7 separate regions of the Homo sapiens genome follow, and regions 2, 3, 4, 5, 6 and 7 are each linked to region 1. The links are contacts of gene promoters, found by promoter capture Hi-C in blood cells and fetal thymus (Javierre and others, 2016). All regions are on one chromosome and are shown on one strand. The core of a region is centred on a gene start or on the middle of the fragment in contact, and the rest is flanking DNA. Distances in the headings are between cores, read along the strand shown. Region 1 holds the start of EOMES (eomesodermin). Region 2 overlaps NEK10 (NIMA related kinase 10). Region 3 overlaps NEK10 (NIMA related kinase 10). Region 4 has its middle 37 kb from the start of LINC01967. Region 5 has its middle 17 kb from the start of LINC01967. Region 6 overlaps LINC01967 (long intergenic non-protein coding RNA 1967). Region 7 has its middle 25 kb from the start of LINC01967.

What was found. Contacts are between HindIII fragments. The CHiCAGO score rates a contact against its expected background, and 5 or more counts as called.
Region 2: a contact is called between a fragment that was not itself captured here and the fragment with the promoter of EOMES in region 1, in 5 of 17 cell types (M1 macrophages, M0 macrophages, fetal thymus and 2 more). The highest score is 6.2, in M1 macrophages.
Region 3: a contact is called between a fragment that was not itself captured here and the fragment with the promoter of EOMES in region 1, in 1 of 17 cell types (total CD8 T cells). The highest score is 5.5, in total CD8 T cells.
Region 4: a fragment that was not itself captured here is called in contact with the fragment with the promoter of EOMES in region 1 in 6 of 17 cell types (activated CD4 T cells, total CD4 T cells, naive CD8 T cells and 3 more); the score reaches 11.6 in activated CD4 T cells.
Region 5: a contact is called between a fragment that was not itself captured here and the fragment with the promoter of EOMES in region 1, in 6 of 17 cell types (naive CD8 T cells, total CD8 T cells, total CD4 T cells and 3 more). The highest score is 9.3, in naive CD8 T cells.
Region 6: a fragment that was not itself captured here is called in contact with the fragment with the promoter of EOMES in region 1 in 6 of 17 cell types (naive CD8 T cells, activated CD4 T cells, non-activated CD4 T cells and 3 more); the score reaches 14.0 in naive CD8 T cells.
Region 7: a fragment that was not itself captured here is called in contact with the fragment with the promoter of EOMES in region 1 in 6 of 17 cell types (total CD8 T cells, naive CD8 T cells, non-activated CD4 T cells and 3 more); the score reaches 10.8 in total CD8 T cells.

The regions. Positions count from the first base shown.
Region 1 is chr3:27,720,995-27,723,657 of GRCh38, forward strand. It overlaps EOMES (eomesodermin), which reads right to left and starts at 1,329. Exons shown (of 6, transcript NM_001278182.2): 1 at 420-1,329. The coding sequence starts at 1,300. RefSeq lists a silencer at 755-964. The HindIII fragment of the contact is 2,734 bases long and covers 1-2,310 here.
Region 2 is chr3:27,329,662-27,332,324 of GRCh38, forward strand. All of the region lies in intron 5 of NEK10 (NIMA related kinase 10), which reads right to left. Among named protein-coding and RNA genes, the nearest start is that of NEK10, 38 kb to the right of the region's middle. The HindIII fragment of the contact is 1,266 bases long and covers 686-1,951 here.
Region 3 is chr3:27,354,155-27,356,817 of GRCh38, forward strand. The region is part of intron 1 of NEK10 (NIMA related kinase 10); the gene reads right to left. Among named protein-coding and RNA genes, the nearest start is that of NEK10, 14 kb to the right of the region's middle. The HindIII fragment of the contact is 1,846 bases long and covers 397-2,242 here.
Region 4 is chr3:28,064,007-28,066,669 of GRCh38, forward strand. No RefSeq gene overlaps it. Among named protein-coding and RNA genes, the nearest start is that of LINC01967, 37 kb to the left of the region's middle. The HindIII fragment of the contact is 4,860 bases long and covers 1-2,663 here.
Region 5 is chr3:28,044,287-28,046,949 of GRCh38, forward strand. No RefSeq gene overlaps it. Among named protein-coding and RNA genes, the nearest start is that of LINC01967, 17 kb to the left of the region's middle. The HindIII fragment of the contact is 5,132 bases long and covers 1-2,663 here.
Region 6 is chr3:28,021,455-28,024,117 of GRCh38, forward strand. The region is part of intron 1 of LINC01967 (long intergenic non-protein coding RNA 1967); the gene reads right to left. Among named protein-coding and RNA genes, the nearest start is that of LINC01967, 5.8 kb to the right of the region's middle. The HindIII fragment of the contact is 8,805 bases long and covers 1-2,663 here.
Region 7 is chr3:28,001,873-28,004,535 of GRCh38, forward strand. No RefSeq gene overlaps it. Among named protein-coding and RNA genes, the nearest start is that of LINC01967, 25 kb to the right of the region's middle. The HindIII fragment of the contact is 5,809 bases long and covers 1-2,663 here.

The DNA.
Region 1 (2,663 bases), core at 79-2,578:
CTGCGGGAGCCCATCTACTGCGCTCAGGTGGCCAGCTCTTGAGCCTTCCCTATCCGTGGCTCCTTGCCGGCATGCAGGCATGCACAAGCATACCGCCGAGCAGGAGGATCTAACGAATCCAGCTTGTGGACATGCCCTAATTTCCATTTCCGCCTCCTCCAGGTCTGTTCAGGTGAGGATGATGGGAGGGAAAAGCGGTGTACAGCCGTAACATTGGCACCCTGCAAGAGCCGCCGGGGCACTGACACAGAGGGACACCGCATTGGAGATGCGGTGTCTACGGAGATTTATTGCGCGCGGTGAAACACTCTAAGCACCGCGCGGAACAACTGGGTTCAGCTCCCTCATCCCGGACCTTCCCCAGGACCACACGTCACCCTTTATCCCCGAACCCAGGGGCCCCTCCACGCTGCGCTCACCTGCCCTGTTTCGTAATGATCATCTCAGTTTGGTGGCGGTGGAATTTGAGCCACAGAGGCCGGTTGCACAGGTAGACGTGGGCACGGAAGCCAGAACCTGGAACCCCCAGGCCCCCCAGTCCTCCGCAAGATCCCGCCGCTGCGGCTCCAGGGTACGGCCCGTAGAGCGGAGCCCCCTGGCTGTACTGATAGGTGCCCGGGCCGCCGCCCCCGCCGCTGCTACCGCCCGCGCCACTGCCCGCACCGGCTCCTGGGCCGAACTGCGCCCTCCCGGGTGGGCACACAGCCGCGGGGAAGCCGCCGGGGGGCAGCATGGAGCCGTAGGGGTAGCGCGCCCCGTTAGGAGCCGGGTACACAGGTCCGTGGGGCGCCCCAGCCGCCGCCTGGTACGGGAAGAGTGAGCAGGGCGCAGCCAGCTCCGACCCCTGAGGACCGGGGGACTGGAGGTAGTACCGCTCGGAGCTCAGGCTGTCCATGGAGTAGCGCGCAGTGGCCGCAGCCGCGGCGGCGGCGGCGGCGGCGGCTGCAGCGGCGGAGGGCAGCTCCTCCTCCCCGCAGGGGGAGCCCTTGCGGCCGTCCGGGGGCCCCGGCTTGGCCACTGCCGCAGCGCTGGCAAATGCGTCCCCGGCGTCGGTGTCACTAAGCATGGCCGCGGGGGCCCCTGCGCTGGCGGCTGCGGGCTCCCCGCTCACCGCCTCGCAGGAGAGACTGCCGGAAAACTTCTTGGACGCTTTGTCTAAGTCCAACTTCTGAGGAGAGGGGGCCGCGCTGGGGAGGTGGCCAGCGCTCCCGCCGCTGCCGCCTCGCGCACTCTCCAGCGGGTAGAAGTGCGCGCCAGGCAGGTTCACTGAGCTCACCAAGAGCTGCTCCCCTAACTGCATGCTTTGCAAAGCGCAGACGGCAGCTGGCTGCTTCCTCTCCTCCGGTGGCCTTATTATAAAGGCAGGATGGGGGAGCCAGCGCCCTCTTCCGAGGGGAAGGTAACTTCCCCTTCCTCCCGCGCCGGGGCTACCCACCTGCCGACTCGCGGGCCGCTACTGCGCGTACTGGCGCGCCCTGAATCCAGCGTCCTTTCCGGAAGGAAAGCGCCGTGAGTTGGAAAGCAGGAGGTGGAAACTAACCCAGAAGCCCTCTCCTTTTCCTTCCTCGTACCTCTTGCTCCTCAGGACCCCCACCCTCCTCCCAGGCTCACACGCTGGAAGAAGGTGACTTAGATCTTTGTCCCCATCCACCCACTAGCCCGCGCCTTTCTGCCCTTTTTCAATTGCCAAAGCATCGGTCAAGTTGACCACTTGGAAACTTATGGGCTGTCACTAGCTGCTTTATATATTTGCGGCCAGGGAGGGGCTTCCCGGCCTCACAGCCCGGAGACCCTCCTATTGGCTGGTGGAGGTGACACTAATTCAATTAGGCATTTACTAATTGGATCAAGTCGCCTGTGACTTTCTTTTCCTTTTTTTTTTTTTTTTTTTTTTTTTTTTTTTGAGACTGCGTCCCGCTGTGATAATCAATCCTGGTGTCTGTAATTTCGCCGGAATTTAGGGGGACAAAGTTTGGGGTCTCCATAGCGGTGTCCACCCTTGGCGCATTAGTCATCTCAGCCCTCCGCTGGAGGAATGAGATGGCTGGAGCAGATTTTAGAGGCCAGAGAGAGAAAGACTCTTCAAGCTGATAGCTTGCAGGGAAGCGCCCGTCCCGGAGGCTGGGGAAACTGGGGCAAGTTGGAGACAGGCCCAAGGAAGTCTCTTTCCTCGTCGGAAGCTGTAACTTCAAAGCACACCTTCCTCTTGTCGAAGGCAAACTCCCTGGCCTTCAACGCACAGAACCACTTTTTGTTTGTTCCCATCCTTTTACCCAGTGGGAAAGGTTTGTAGAGAGGAAACTCGCGCTAAGCTTTTGGGATTCCGGGGACGGCCAGAGCACATTGCCATCCTGGAGGACCTAAGCTCTCAGCTTCTAAATCAGAAGCTTGGACAGGGTACTGGGGACAGGACAAGAGTGAAACTAAGCGAGCTAACACCAACTTCATACTCACGCCAACACAACTGCTTTCGGGGAGACAGTCACTTTTATTCCCCACAATTTAAAATCCTTTCTGCTCAGTTTTCCTGATCCCGGATTCCGTCCCTTCACCACCATCTTCAGTTAGGCCTGACACCAAGAAACAAAGCTTCCCTAACAGCCCCACAGTTAGGATTCCCTGCGCCTCTGCTCTGCGGCAAATACAGAAGGTAGAATAATTAG
Region 2 (2,663 bases), core at 69-2,568, 390 kb before region 1:
AAGTCTGGTTACCAAAGTGATACTTTTCCCTGGTGCACACCTAAAACAAATTTTAAATGTGCATTGATTAGTAAAGAACAAGGGAATCCGTGAGGCATTAGAGAAAAGAGTACCAGCCATGGCTTTGTCTCAGGACCTTGGACCTTACCTGCTCATCTCCCACATCTATCAAATGAGGCTTAAGAAGGTTTTCTTCAGAGTCCATTCTACCTCTATAATTTCATGACTTTTTTGGTATATATAGTCATCCCTTGGTATCCTCAGGAGTTCCAGGACACCCACGGTTACCAAAATCCACAGAACCTACACATATTCTCACATGTACTATAAATCATCTTAGATTACTCATAATACCTAATATGACATAAATGCTATGTAAGTACTTTTTATTGTTGTGTTTTTTATTGTTTTTCCTGAATATTTTTTAATCTGCAGTTGGTTGAATCTGATGATGCAGAACCCTTGGATATCAAGGGCTGACTGTGCCTGTGTGTGTGTGTACATGTGTGTACACATTTACCTAAAATACCCTAGATAATATTGCATGAGAAATAATAATATAAGAGCTAGATATTTGCTCCAAGTTAGGTGATGGGAAGAAGGGAAATCATCATTTGCTTGAGGACTACATGAGATCTTAGGTTGTTAAAGCTTATTTGCTTCATGTCTATGTTTAAGGTTGTGAAGCTTTGAGTAAAAGAGAGAAAAAAAGACAAATTTCATTCTCAAACAATGATCCAGCTGTTTAAAAAGTTCTACTCTGGGTAAAAGCAGAATGTAGTTTTGTATGTGCATAATAATCTATCAGATAAGTGAAGGAAAAAAGCATAAAATTGTTAAAAGATTAGAAGGAAATGTAGCAAAAGTTAATATAGCTGTTTCTAAGGGTGGTATAAATAGTAAGTTTTCATGTTTTTATAATTTTCTGTGTTTTCCAAAATTTTTAAAGCAATCAAAATAATTTAATGCAAAGAAATTCCAAATGAACAATCTTAGCCTCAATGTTCACCTAACAAAACCAGTGTCAATGGCTCGAGCAGGGGATAAAAGACTATAAAGAGGTGGAGACGGAGTGCTTCAGGCAGAGGACTACCACGGTCAAAGGATCAGAGGTGACAAAAAGAATAACTTTCATAGGAACAGAAATTTCACTCTGACCTCAATGAGTCCAGGAAAGACACTGGACAGAATAAAGAGATGAGGCCAAGAAGGAACAAGATCTCAAAGAACTATGTGAACCAACTAAGGAATAGGCCGTTATAACATTTTTTAGTACCTAAAGACACAAACCTGGCTGGATGCAGTGGCTCACACCTGTAATCCCAGCACTTTGGGAGGCCGAAGTGGGCGGATCACCTGAGGTCAGGAGTTCAAGACCAGCCTGGCCAACATGGCGAAACCCTGTCTCTACTAAAAAATACAAAAATTAGCCAATCGTGGTGGCAGGCACCTGTAATCCCAGCTACTCGGGAGGCCGAGGCAGGGAGAATCGCTTAAACTTGGGAAGTGGAGGTTGCAGTGAGCTGAGATCAGGCCACTGCACTCCAGCCTGGGTGATAAAGTAAGACTCTGTCTCAAAAAAAAAAAAACAAAAAAAAAAAACACACAAACCTAAGACTTTTGAGGCCTTAATGAAACTTTATCTGTGCCCAGTCTATGGTGCTAACTTGAACATCTGTCTCTAGGGAGGTTCTGAACTATCTGACAGGCTTTACCAAGGTGACCAGGCTTCTCCTTTCTTAGGCAATAAGGAACCTTCAAAGGTCTCTATTGGCCTCTGTACTGGCTGAAGAGATAAATTCACAGAAAAAGCATCTCTTCATTAGCTTCATCTATTTCAAGAACTTATTCAAAACACTGAAGAGATTGTCCCTGCATCCTAACTTCTGGTCCTCTCATCTAACCTCCCTCTGCGATGGAGTCTGGATAGTCAATGCTGAGGACCAGGTAAAGCTTGAAAGGAAAAGAGTCACTTGCTTCATGATCTAGGTCCTGGAGCAGATATTGATAACGAATTGTCTGATAGCTAAACACATAACTATATTAATCCTCTTGGTTATAAGTATCTATGATGTTCTCAGAATACTTTTTATGATAATTTCTAATAACGTTGTGATGTTTTCTCCTAATTCAACAAGTTTTCTCTTATACATCGTGGAAACATTTCTCACCTAGACTTCCTACAGACTCATTTCCAAAATTCTTCAAATTTGTAGCAGATATCTCAGGAAACTGGGGTATAAAATAATAAGGATACTAACTTATTCTTTTCAGAAAAGTAAATTAATTTTTTTGCAAATAAGGTCATACTAAATGGTTTCTTCCAACTCATTCCAGCTAGAATGAGTACCTTGGACAAGTTTACCTACACAAAAGTTACAGGCAAAGGAAGAGGCATATGCTGGTTATTCTAGAACGATAGTACCAGAACGAGGCCAGTTAAGTAAAGCCACTTCAAAATAATACCAAATTTCATATTAAAGAGCAGGAGGAAAGATTGAAACAACATCTTAAAAAGTAAATTATGAAACCAAGATGTATTTTATTTTACGTTTAACAAAATTTAAGTTATACTGCAACATTGCCCTGGTAACTAGAGCAAAGCAAGAATAAACTCTGCTGACATTTTTGGAACACTTTTTCTGAAAAAATATTCATATAAC
Region 3 (2,663 bases), core at 70-2,569, 370 kb before region 1:
GCTACAGACTATAGTTTAGAAGCAGAAAATAGAAGCCGCAATGACAAGCACAGGAGAGCCTATGGAGAAGCTCACAGGCTTCTTCTGCTAGAAGGGGATCGCGTTTACCACTATCAAACTCGCTAAACACCCTGTCTTATTCTCTTGCTTAATTTCCATAATTGTATTGAACAAGTATGTGAACAGGAAATAATGATCTAATCGTTATATCTGTTTGAGATCAGCATGTACTCTGTGAGCTGGAAGGCTGAATATAAATGACTCTTTGGAAATGTTGCACTTAACTAAACAGTAAACAAATTCACCAGTATCAGCAGAAACAGATAATTGTCTTTAGGATAAAAAACAAAATCCTTTCCATTTAATGGCTGCTTAAATGGAGATATTCTGAAAAAAAGCTTTGAGAAGTTGGGAATGCTTTAAAATAGTTAACCTAATCCCATTTTAAATTAACAAAAATGATTACATTATACTAATGTCTACACTATAATACAAAATGGGAGATGGGGGAAGGAAGGGCAGTTCATATGTTAAGTTGCCCAAAGGCAGACAATGTATTAAGAAAGCATTCCCAACAGAGGTCAGGCAAGGGTGCTAACACAAAAGCTCTCTAGAGGGTAGCTTTGGTCTAAGCCCATGGAGGAATGCTGCAGTGTAGATTAGTCCTCAGAGTTGTCTAAACTGAGAGAAGTGAGAGCCTGGCTCTCATATTCCTGTAGCCTTCAGTCATAACTCCCCAGGCACTCCTCTCTTGTGGTAGTGACTCCAAGTCACTTAGAGGCAGTCCTCTCAAAAAGACATACAGAATCTAGCTGTTAAAGCAGAACATTGAAGCCAATACGAGGACACACAGTCCCAAGGAATGGGAGAGGCTCTGGGCAGAGTGCCCACATATATCCACTAAAATCAACGACTCCATGTGGAAGAGCTGTGGGTAATGAAGGTAAAGGATCTTTGCTATGGATACAAACTAAGCAGCGCCTGCTGCATTAGCTTCCAACTACTGAGTTGAATTTCCCTCTTTCTTTGCTTGACCTCGCCAGATGTTGTTATGATCTCATGTCCTAGCAGCTCAGTCCTTGGTCCTCCTCCCTTCTCTATCTGCCCCCTCTCCCAAGGATCTCTTGCAGTCCCATGGTTTTACATACCATCAGCAATTATAAATTTATATGTTCAGCCCTAACCCCATTCTGACCTCCTAAATTCACAAAGTCACTATATGGATGCCTAATGAGCATCCCAAATTTAACATACCCTAAACAGAACTCTTGACCCCCACCCCCTAGTAACAAATGCCCCTAGTGCTCCTCATCTTGGTAACTGGTACCACAATGGCTCTCTAGACAAAAGTTCAGGGGACATTCTTGGCTCCTCTCTTTCCTCTACCTCCCATATTCAAGCCACCAGCAAAACTAGTTAGCTTTCCCTTCTTTCCACTCCTACTATCACCCTACTCCAAGCCACCATCTTCTCTGCCTGGATGACTGCCACAACCCCCTCAAGAGTCTCTCTGCTTCCACTCTTGCTCCTCTACATCCTCAGGAACCCCAGGGAATGCTTTAAAATGTAAATCAGATCATACCACTCTGTGGCTTACAACCTTCCTGTGGCCTTCTATTGGACTTGGCTTCCAACCATGACTTTCACTGCTCTGAGCTTGCCTCCTCCCCTCTCCCTCTTGCTTCCTCCACTTCAGCCATGTTGGCTTTCTAGAGAGAAACATGAACCCACGAACATGCCAAATGCTATGGTTTGAATGTCTATCCTCTCCAAAATTCATGTTGAAATTTAATTGCCACTAAAACAGTATTAAAAGGTAGGACCTTTGAGAGATAATTGAGCCAAGAGTCTGTCCTCATGAGTGGGTTTAGTGCATTTTACAAAGGGCTTTCAGGAATGAGTTCTCTCTCTTTGCTCTTCTGCCATGTAAGAAAAAGTGTGACTCCCAGAGAAAACAGCATTCAAGCCTCCATCTTGGAAGCAGGGACTGGGCACTTACCAGACACCAAGCCTACTAGCACCTTGATCTTGGACTTCCCAGCCTCCAGAACTGTTCTTTATAAATTACCTAGTCTGCCAGGCATGAAGGCTCATACCTGTATTCCTAACACCTTCAGAGGCTGAAGTGGGAGGATCACTTGAAGGTCAAGAGTTTGAAACCACCCTGGGCAACATACCAAGACTCCATCTCTACAAAAAATTTAAAAATAAGCCAAGTGTGGTGGTGTGTACCTGTAGTGCAAGCTTCAAGAAGCTGAGGCAAGAGGATTGCTTGAGCCCAGGAGGTTGAGGCTGCAGTGAGCCCTCATGGTGTTACTGCGTTCCAGCCTGAGCAACGGCACAAGATCCTGTCTCTTAAAAATAAACTAATAAATAAATACCCCAGTCTGTAGTATTCTATCATAGCAGCACAAAACAGACTAAGACCATTTGTGCCCATGAACATGCCAACTATATTCTTGCCTTAAGCACTTTCTGCCTGCTTGCTGTTCTTTTCCCATAATCTCACACTGGCTTCTCCATATCCTTTGGGTTTCAGGTCAGATGTGCTCTCCTAAGTGGGGTCTCCTCTGATGAGTATCTGTGACATATTCACCCCCACACACTCATACTTACCACAGCACTCTGTTTTCTTTCCTTCTGGAGTTCATCAACATCGGAAA
Region 4 (2,663 bases), core at 65-2,564, 340 kb after region 1:
TTCCCTATTTAATAAGTGGTGCTGGGAAAACTGGCTAGCCATATGTAGAAAGCTGAAACTGGATCCCTTCCTTACACCTTACACAAAAATCAATTCAAGATGGATTAAAGACTTAAATGTTAGACCTAACACCATAAAAACCCTAGAAGAAAACCTAGGCATTACCATTCAGGACATAGGCATGGGCAAGGACTTCATGTCTAAAACACCAAAAGCAATGGCAACAAAAGACAAAATTGACAAATGGGATCTAATTAAACTAAAGAGCTTCTGCACAGCAAAAGAAACTACCATCAGAGTGAACAGGCAACCTACAAAATGGGAGAAAAGTTTCGCAACCTACTCATCTGACAAAGGGCTAATATCCAGAATCTACAATGAACTCAAACAAATTCACAAGAAAAAAACAAACAACCCCATCAAAAAGTGGGCGAAGGACATGAACAGACACTTCTCAAAAGAAGACATTTATGCAGCCAAAAAACACATGAAAAAATGCTCACCATCACTGGCCATCAGAGAAATGCAAATCAAAACCACAATGAGATACCATCTCACACCAGTTAGAATGGCAATCATTAAAAAGTCAGGAAACAACAGGTGCTGGAGAGGATATGGAGAAATAGGAACACTTTTACACTGTTGGTGGGACTGTAAACTAGTTCAACCATTGTGGAAGTCAGTGTGGCGACTGGATTCCTCAGGGATCCAGTACTAGAAATACCATTTGACCCAGCCATCCCATTACTGGGTATATACCCAAAGGACTATAAATCATGCTTCTATAAAGACACATGCACACATATGTTTATTGAGGCATTATTCACAATAGCAAAGACTTGGAACTAACCCAAATGTCCACCAATGATAGACTGGATTAAGAAAATGTGGCACATATATACCATGGAATACTATGCAGCCATAAAAAATGATGAGTTCATGTCCTTTGTAGGGACATGGATGAAATTGGAAATCATCATTCTCAGTAAACTATCGCAAGAACAAAAAACCAAACACCACATATTCTCACTCATTGGTGGGAATTGAACAATGAGATCACATGGATACAGGAAGGGGAATATCACACTCTGGGGACTGTTGTCAGGTGGGGGGGAGTGGGGAGGGATAGCATTGGGAGATATACCTAATGCTAGATGACAAGTTAGTGGGTGCAGCTCACCAGCATGTCACATGTATACATATGTAACTAACCTGCACAATGTGCACATGTACCCTAAAACTTATAATAATAAAAATAAATAAATAAAATAGAAATGCTTTTACGTTTTTGGTAGGAGTGTAAATTAGTTCAACCATTGTGGAAGACAGGTGGCAATTCCTTAAGGATCTAGAACCAGAAATACCATTAGACCTAGCAATTCCATCACCGGATATATACCCAAAGGATTATAAATCATTCTACTATAAAGACACATGCAGACTTATGTTTATTGTGGCACTGTTCACAATAGCAAAGACTTGGAACCAACCCAAATGCCCATCAATGATAGACTGGATAAAGAAAATGTGGCACATATACACCATGGCATACTATGCAGCCATAAAAAGGATGAGTTCATGTCCTTTGCAGGGACGTGGATGATGCTGGAAACTATCATTCTCAGCAAACTAACACAAGAATAGAAAACCAAATGCCACATGTTCTCACTCATAAGTGGTAGTTGAACAGTGAGAACACATGGACACAGGGAGGGGAACATCACACACTGTGGCCTCTCGGGGGTGGGGGGCTAGGGGCGGGGTAGCATTAGGAGAAATACCTAATGTAGATGATGGGTTGATGGGTGCAGAAAACCACCGTGGCACATGTATACCTGTGTAACAAACCTGCACGTGCTGCACATGTATCCCAGATTTAAGGTTAATAAAAAAGATAAAAACACTTCTAATATATATTTTTTATTTTATTTTACTTTAAGTTCTAGGATGCTTGTGCAGGACGTGCAGGTTTGTTACATAGGTATACATGTGCCATGGTGGTTTGCTGTACCCATTAACCCATCATCTAGATAACACTTCTAATATTAAACATTGAGATAAATGTGAGATATACATACATTCAAGAAAGATTAATAAAAATGAATAAGATAATTATTTGCCCAATTATTTCAGTTCAGGGTCATAGGCAGGTGGAGCCTATCCCAGCAGCGCAGGGCTCAACGAAGGAACCCCCACTCTGGACAGGATGGCATTCCCTTGCAGGGCACACTTGCACACACCCATGTCCACTCAGGCAGGGGCAACCGAGACATCCCGTTATCTAATGTGCACATACTTGGGATGTGAAAGGAAACCGGAGTACCCAGAGAAAACCCACACAGACATGGAGCAGATGTGCAAACTCCACACAGACAGTGTCATCAGCTGGGAATGGGTAGAATAATTATGTTGCTCAAGTACCTGTCTCAAGGGGTTATTGTGAGACTTACATATAAAGCACTTAAAATACAAATATGGGCAATATATGAATTATCCATTATTATTGTTATAATTATTTAGCATATAGTAAGTGACACAGGTAAGACTTATTCTCAGATGTGAGGACTTTCAAAGGTATCTAGTAAATATAACCATTTTTTCCTTTTCAAGGACCTATTTTTCAGACTATCAAAAGCATCAAACATATTTTTGAAGATGAAAGA
Region 5 (2,663 bases), core at 123-2,622, 320 kb after region 1:
GACCCTTACACTATGTGATATTCTGTTATTTAAAAATAGACACGAAAATTATATATATACATAGTAAATTTTTAAATGACTTTAACCTTTATTTTAGATTCATGAGGTACATGTACAGGTTTGCTACATGGGTATATTGCATGATGCGGAGGGTTGGCTTCTAAAGATCACATCGCCCAGATAGTGAGCATAATACCCAACAGTTAGTTTTTCAACCCTTATGTCCCTCCCCTCCTTCCCCTTCCTATAAGTCCCCAATGTCTATTTTTGCCATCTTTATGTTCATAAGTACCTAGCATGTAGATCCCACTTAAAGCAAGACCATGCAATATTTGTTTTTCTGTTCCTGCATTAATTTCCTTAGGATAATTACCTCCAGCTGTATCCATGTTGTTACAAAGGACATGGTTCCATTCATTTTTATGGCTGTGCGGTATTTGTGTATATGTACCACATCTTCCTTATACAGTAAACCGTTGATGAGTACCTAGGTTGATTCCATGTCTTTGCTATTACTAGTAGTGCTGTGATGAACATATAAGTATGTGTCTTTTGGTAGAACAATTTATTTTCTTTTTGATACATATCCAGTAATGGGGTTGCTGGGTCAAATAGTAGTTTTAAGTTCTTTGAGAAATCTCCAAACAGTTTTCCGCAGTGGCTGAACTAATTTATATTTCCACTGACAGTGCATAGGCAGCTCCTTTTCTCTGCAGCCTCACCAGAATCTGTTTTTTGATTTTTTAATAATAGCCATTCTGACGCGTGTGAGATGATATTTCATTGTGGTTTTGATTTGCATTTCTCTGATGATTCGTGTTGCTGAGCATTTTTTCATATGCTTGTTGGCCGCTTATATGTCTTCTTTTGAGAATTGTCTGTTCATATCTTTTGTCTATTTTTTTATGGAGTTATTTGTGTTTTGCTTGTTGCATTGTTTAACTTCCTGATAGATTCTGGACATCAAATCTTTGTCAATTGTATAGGTTGCAAATATTTTTTCTCATTCTGTAGGTTCTGTTTACTCTGTTGATGGCTTCTTTTGCTTTACAGAGTGCTTTAGTTTAATTAGGTCTCACTTGTCAATTTTTGTTTTTGTTGCAATTGCTTTTGAGGACTTAATCATGCATTCTTTCCCAAGGACAATGTCCAGAATGATGTTTTCTTCTAGGATTCTTATAGTTTGAGGTCTTATATTTAAGTCTTTTGTCCATCTTGAGTTAAGTTTTACATATGGTGAAAGGTGGGGATTTAGTTTCATTCTTCTGCATGTAGCAGCCAGCCAGCTATCCCAATACCACTTACTAAATAGGGAGTCCTTTCCCCATTGCTTATTTTTGTCAACTTTGTCAAAGATCAGATGCTGTAGGTGAGTGCCTTTATTCTGGGTTCTTTATTCTGTTCCATTGGTCTATGTGCCTGCTTTTGTACCAGTAAATGTATATTGCAAATCCTAAGACAACCAGTAAAATACTTTAAAAAGAGGCATAAATAAAAATCCAACAGTGGAGATAAACTAGAATCATAAAAAAACTTAATCCAAAACTAAGTAGAAAAAGAAGTAAAAAAAAAAAAAAAGACAGAAGAGGAAACAAATGGAAAATACCTAGTAAAATAGTACAGTTTAATACAATCCTATTCATAATTATATTAAACTTAAATCATTTACCTGTACTAATTAAAATATGAAAATTATCAGATTGGATGAGAACATAAAATATCCATATGCTATCTACAAGAAACACTTTAGATATAAAGACTTAAATAGGTTGAAAATAAAAGGAGGGAAAAAAGATATGCAACAACACTAATAAAAAGAAGTCTGGAGCGGCTATAATAATATCAGACAACATCGACTTCAAAAGGAAGATATTATCAGAGATAAAGAGGACCATAATGATAAAGGATTCAGTTTTCCAAGAAGACATAACAATCCTAAATGTGTATGCACCTAACAACTGAGTTTCTAAATTTATGAAGCAAATGTTTTAGAGCTGAGAAGAAAAATAGGCAAATCTACAATTGTACTTGGAGAGCTTAATGCTGCTCTCTCATCAATTGGTAGAATATGTAAGAGAGAATCAGCAAGTGTATAGAAGACCCAAGCGTCACTACCAACATACTTAACCTAATTGATATTTACCTAACACTCCACCCAATAACAGCAGAATCCACATTCTTTCCATGTGCAAATTAAACACTCACCAAGATAGACCATATTCTGAGTCGTAATACAAACCTTAACAATTTTAAAATAATCAAATCATACGAAAGATTTTGTCTACCCAGGACAGAATTAACTTAGAAATCAATAAAAAAAGATATGTGGAAATTCTGCAAATATTCAGAAATTAAACATCATACTTCTAAATAACCAGTGAGTCACAGAGGAAGTCAAAAAGAAATTAGAAAATATTTTTTACTGAACTAGTATGAATACATAACATAAAATGTATGTAAAGTTTCCAAAGCAGTGCTTAGAGGGAAATTTGTAACATAAAAATCTTTATATTATTCTTATATTAGGAAAAAGTTCACAAATTAATGATCTAAGATTTCACTTTAAGAAACTAAAAAAGGACAAATTAAACCTGACATGAGCAAAAGAAAAGGAATATGAAAAATAAGAGTAGAAATCAATGAAATTTATAAGAGCAATACAA
Region 6 (2,663 bases), core at 59-2,558, 300 kb after region 1:
GGTCTATCTCAGGTACACTGTAGAGGGTTTTGGAGGTAGCAAGCATGTAGAAGGACATTTAGGCCATGATTTTGATACCGTAGCTAATCTGCTGAGTTCAAAATATACTTCTCTAGCCTTGTGCTCTAAACCTGCATATACAATTTCCTGTTGGTATGGTCACTTGACTGTGTAATAGGGATCTCAAATATAACACATCTAAAATCGAACTTAAACTAACTGGATTGGAATTGATCCCCTGTTTACCCATTTATTCTCTTACCTGTTCTTTGTGTGGTCTTCTCCATCTCAGTCAATAACATCATAAACCATCCAGTTGCTCAAGCTAAAAGTTTAGACATCATTTTTTATTTTTGTATCTATCCTCTTCCTACATCTAATCCATCAGGAAGCCCTATCCTCTGCAGGGTTTGTACCATTGTGTAATGCATGAGAGTGAGCATTTCTCTACTGCTTTCTCAACAGAAATTGAAATTGAGTCTTTTTATTGGTTTATTTATTTATTTTTTTCCCTGTGGTCTATTCAGTTGTGCAAGATAATGAAGTTCTGGAGACCTAATACACAACAATGTGACAGTAGTTAACAATATTGTACTATATACTTGAAGTTTGCTAAGAAGGTAGATCTTAAGTATTCTCAACACACATACACAAAAGGTAACTATGTGAAGTGGGAGATGTGTTAATTAGCTTGATTGTGGTGAAGATTTCACAACAGATACACATATCAATTCATCAGTTGTATAACTTAAATATGTACAATTTTTAACTGTCAACTATACCTCAATAACTTTGGGGAAAAAATGTGAAAAGCAACAGGTATTTGAATATTTGCTAAAGCCCTTTCCTCCTTAGAGAGCCCTGCCCATAGCAAACTGCTAAAAGGTGCCCCCTATACACCAACCTCTGCTTCTCTCTATCCCCACTACCCTGCCCTTGTGCAACCTCTTCCTCACTCACCTGGACATTAAAGTGTCAGTGGCCTCCCTGTTCTCCTGCTTCCATTCTTGCCTTCCTTACACTCTGTTCTTCATCAAATGATCTACTTCAAACATAAGTCCCCTCATGTCACTTTCCTGCTTACAACAGCTTCCCATTTCACTCAGGATAAGACCCTGAGTTTTCTTCGCTTTGACCTACGAAGCCTGGGTGATTTTCCCCTTACTACCATTGTTATTTCATTCTGTAGCACTCTTCTTGCTCTCTGTGTTCCAGTCACACTGCCCCTCTTTCTTTCTTTTGAGTGTGCACGATGCTCACCCCTCTTCAGGGCCTTTGTGTTTGCTGGGCCTTCTGTGTGGAATGTTCTTTCTACTGAGCCTCCCTGTGCTTATTTCTTTGTGTCACTCAGGACTCAGCTGAAATCTCCTCTCTTCAGAGAGTCCTTCCCTGACCACACCAATCCATAGTGCCCCTCTACCACTGCCCCACCCCTGGAGGTCACACTATCATTTTTCCCTGCTTTGTTTTCTTTATAGCCCTCGTCATTAATCTAATATTATTTTCTGTATTTGTTTACCTCTTCATTGCCTTAATCACTCTCCAGGAATGTCAGCTCCGTGAGATGGGACTCTGCCTACTTTTTTTACTGTCTTTTCTCCAGACCTGAAGCTGTGTGTGGCACCTTAGCAAGTGCTCAATAAATATTTGCTAAGGAAATCAATGACCTGCTTCTTATGACTCATGGCATTGCCTCCACTTCCTCTTCTTCAGACCAACTCAGACGCATAGTCTTGGCTTCAGCTGCCATTGTTTATACCTGTTGCTTCACCACTTTTTTTCAACTTCACTGATGTATAACTGCCAGTTAAAAATTGTATATATTTAAATTATACAACTGGATGAATTGGTATGTGTATACATTGTGAAATATTCACCACAATCAAGCTAATTAACATATCCATCACCTCACATAGTTATATTGGTGTGTGTGTGTGTTGAGACCACTTAATATCTACCTTCTTAGCAAATTTCAAATATACAGTACAATATTGTTAACTATAGTGTCACGTTGTTGTACATCACATCTCCAGAATCTCCAGAGCTTTATTATCTTGCATAACTGAAACTTTGTACCTCTTGACCACTGATAACGGTTTGGCTCTGTGTCCCCACCCAAATCTCATCTTGAATTATATTTCCATAATTCCCACATGTTGTGGGAGGGACCCGGTGGGAGATAATTTGAATCATGGGGGTGGTTTCCCCCTTTACTGTTCTCATGGTAGTGAATAAGTCTCGAGATCTGATGGGTTTATCAGGGGTTTCCACTTTTGCATCTTTCTCATTTTCTCTTGCTGCTGCCATGTAAGAAGTGCCTTTCACCTCCTGCCATGATTCTGAGGCCTCCCTAGCTATGTGGAACTGTAAGTCCAATTAAACCTCTTTTTCTTCCCAGTCTTGGGTATGTCTTTATCAGCACCATGAAAACAGACTAATACAATAAATTGGTACCAGTAGAGTACTGAAAAGATAACCCAAAATGTGGAAGCAACTTTTGAACTGGGTAACAAACAGAGGTTGGAACAGTTTGGAAGGCTCAGAAGAAGCCAGGAAAATATGGGAAAGTTTGGAACTTTCTAGAGACTTATTGAATGGCTTTGCCCAAAATACTGATAGTGATATGGACAATAAGGTACAGGCTGAGGTGGTCTCAGATGGAG
Region 7 (2,663 bases), core at 66-2,565, 280 kb after region 1:
GGACATGACCTTAGATGAGGCATCTCCCACATTCATTGCTGGGAAAGAAGGTCCTCTTTACTCTGGATTTGTTTCAGCTGGTCTGTTGTTAGCCATGTTTTCTGTCACACAGAGAGAGCCTGTCTATCCTAATACAAAATACAAGTGACAGCTGGAGGGAGAGAAAGACAGAGAATCAGAGAAAGTTCTGGGGTTCACAGAAAGTTCTGGGGTTCACAGGTTACTACTTGCAATCCCTGCGGCCTGATTCCTTCAACTTTTCCTTCAGTTTTCTCAGATAGTCCAGTATCTTTTCTAGCAATATAAGTGAAGAAAACTCCCTCTCACTTCAGCTAATGTGAGCTGAGTTTTTATTACCTGACCATTTGCAATATCAGGTTAACTCAGTTACCAAACCTAGGTAAGCAAAACACACACAGTTGACTAATATCAGGTATGAATATAGAATAAACCATAATAATACCATAAAAAAAGCATTAATGTTGCATATAAAAAGACTAACTCACTCTGATGGTTCCTTTTAGGTGTCAAATTGACTGGGTTAAGGAATAGCCACATAGCTTGTAAAACATTATTTCTGGGTATGTCTGTGGAAATGTTTCTGCAAGGGATTGGCATTTGAATCAATGGGCTGAGTAAGAAAGATCTGCCCTTATCCAGTCTGGGCAGGCACTATCCAACCCATTGAGGGTTCAGATAGAACAAAAAGGCAGAGGAAAGGCAAATTCATTCACTGTATTCTACAGCTGGGACACTTTTCTTCAACTAATCTTGGACATCAGAACTTCGGGTTCTATGGCCTTTGGACTCTAGGACTTGCACTAGCAGGCCCCCAAGGTTCTCAGGCTGTTAGCCTCAGAATGAGACTTACATTATTGGCTTCCCTGGTTGTGAAGCCTTTGGGCTTGGACCAAGCCGTACTATCAACTTCCCTGTTTCTTTCACATGCAGATGGCCTATATTTGGACTTCTCAGCCTCCATAATCACATGAGCCAATTGCCCTAACAAATCTTGTGTTAAGCCATTCTTGTGTTGCTATAAAGGAATACCAGAAACTGGGTAATTTATTTTTTAAAAAAGGTTTAATTGTCTCATGGTTCTGTAAGCTGTACAGGAAGCATGGTGCTGACATCTGCTAGGCCTCTTGGGGAACCTCAGGGAGCTTTTACTCATGGTGGAAGGCAAAGGGGGTGTCAGTATATCACATTGCAAAAGAAGGAGTAAGATAGAGAGTTCCGGAGGAGATGCCACATACTTTTAAACAACCAGATATCACAAGAACTCACTCACTATCTTAAGGACAGCACCAAGCCATGAGGGATCTACTGCCATAACCCAAACACCTCCCACCAGGCCCCACCTTCAACATTAGGGATTATAATTCAGCATGAGATTTAGAGGGGGCAACATCCAAACTATATGAAATCTCATCTTCTATATCTATGGATATGTATTCTGTTGGTTCTGTCTCTCTGGAGAACTCTGAGTAATACACCTGCCATAACCAAAGTCTATCCCAGGAATGCAAAGATGGTTTAATATAGGAAAAATTTGTCACCAGTCCCAGTGGCTCACGTCTGTAATCCTGGCACTTTGGGAGGCTGAGGTGGGCGGGTCACAAGGTCAGGAGTTTGAGACCATCCTCGCCAATATGGTGAAACCCTCTCTCTACTAAAAATACAAAAATTAGCCAGGCGTGCTGGTGGGTGCCTGTAATCCCAGCTACTCGGGAGGCTGAGGCAGGAGAATTGCTTGAAACTGGAAGGCAGAGGTTGCAGTGAGCCGAGATCATGCCACTGCACTCCAGCCTGGGTGAAAGAGCAAAACTCTGTCTCAAAAAAAAAAGAAAAAAAAAAGAAGAAAAATTTGTCAATATAGTTTACTGAATCATAACAACTTTCAAATAAGAAAATACATATAATCACCTTAGTAGAAGGGTGTGGTAGGCTGAATAATGGGCCTCCCCAAAATGTCTGTGTCCTCATTCCTGGGACCTATGAATATGTATTTTATATGGCAAAAGGGACTTTAAATATGTAATTTAAGGATCTTGAGATAAAGAGATGATCCTGAATGATCCAGGTGAGCCCAATGTAATCACAAAGGTCCTGGTAGAGGGAAGCAGTAGAGCTAGAGATAGAGAAGGCCATGTGACAATGGAAGCAGAGACTGGTATGATGTGCTTTGAAGAGAAGGAAGGAGTCATGAACTGAGGAGTGTAGAGGGCCTCCAAAAGTTGGACAAAGCAAGAAAACAGATTCTTTTCTCAGAATCTCCAGAAGAAACTGGCCTTGCCAACACTTTGCCTTTTGCCCTGTTAAAATGAAAACTTCAGAAAAATTAAATTTAACAGAGTTTAATTGAGCAAAAAATGATTCACAAGTTGTGCAGCCTCTGGAACCAGAATAGGTTCAAAAGGACTCCAGGGCTGCCACATGGTCAGATAATATTTGTGAACACAGAAAGGAAAGCAACATATGGAAAATAGAAGTAAGGTACAGAAATAGCTGGATTGGTTACAGCTTGGCGTTTGCCTTATTTGAAGATGGTTTGAACAGTTGACTGCCTGTGATTGGCCAAAACTTGGTGACTATTAGAAGAGCAAGTTAGTCTGTTTACACATTCAGTTAGATTACAGTTCACTTGGGATGGATAAACCTTT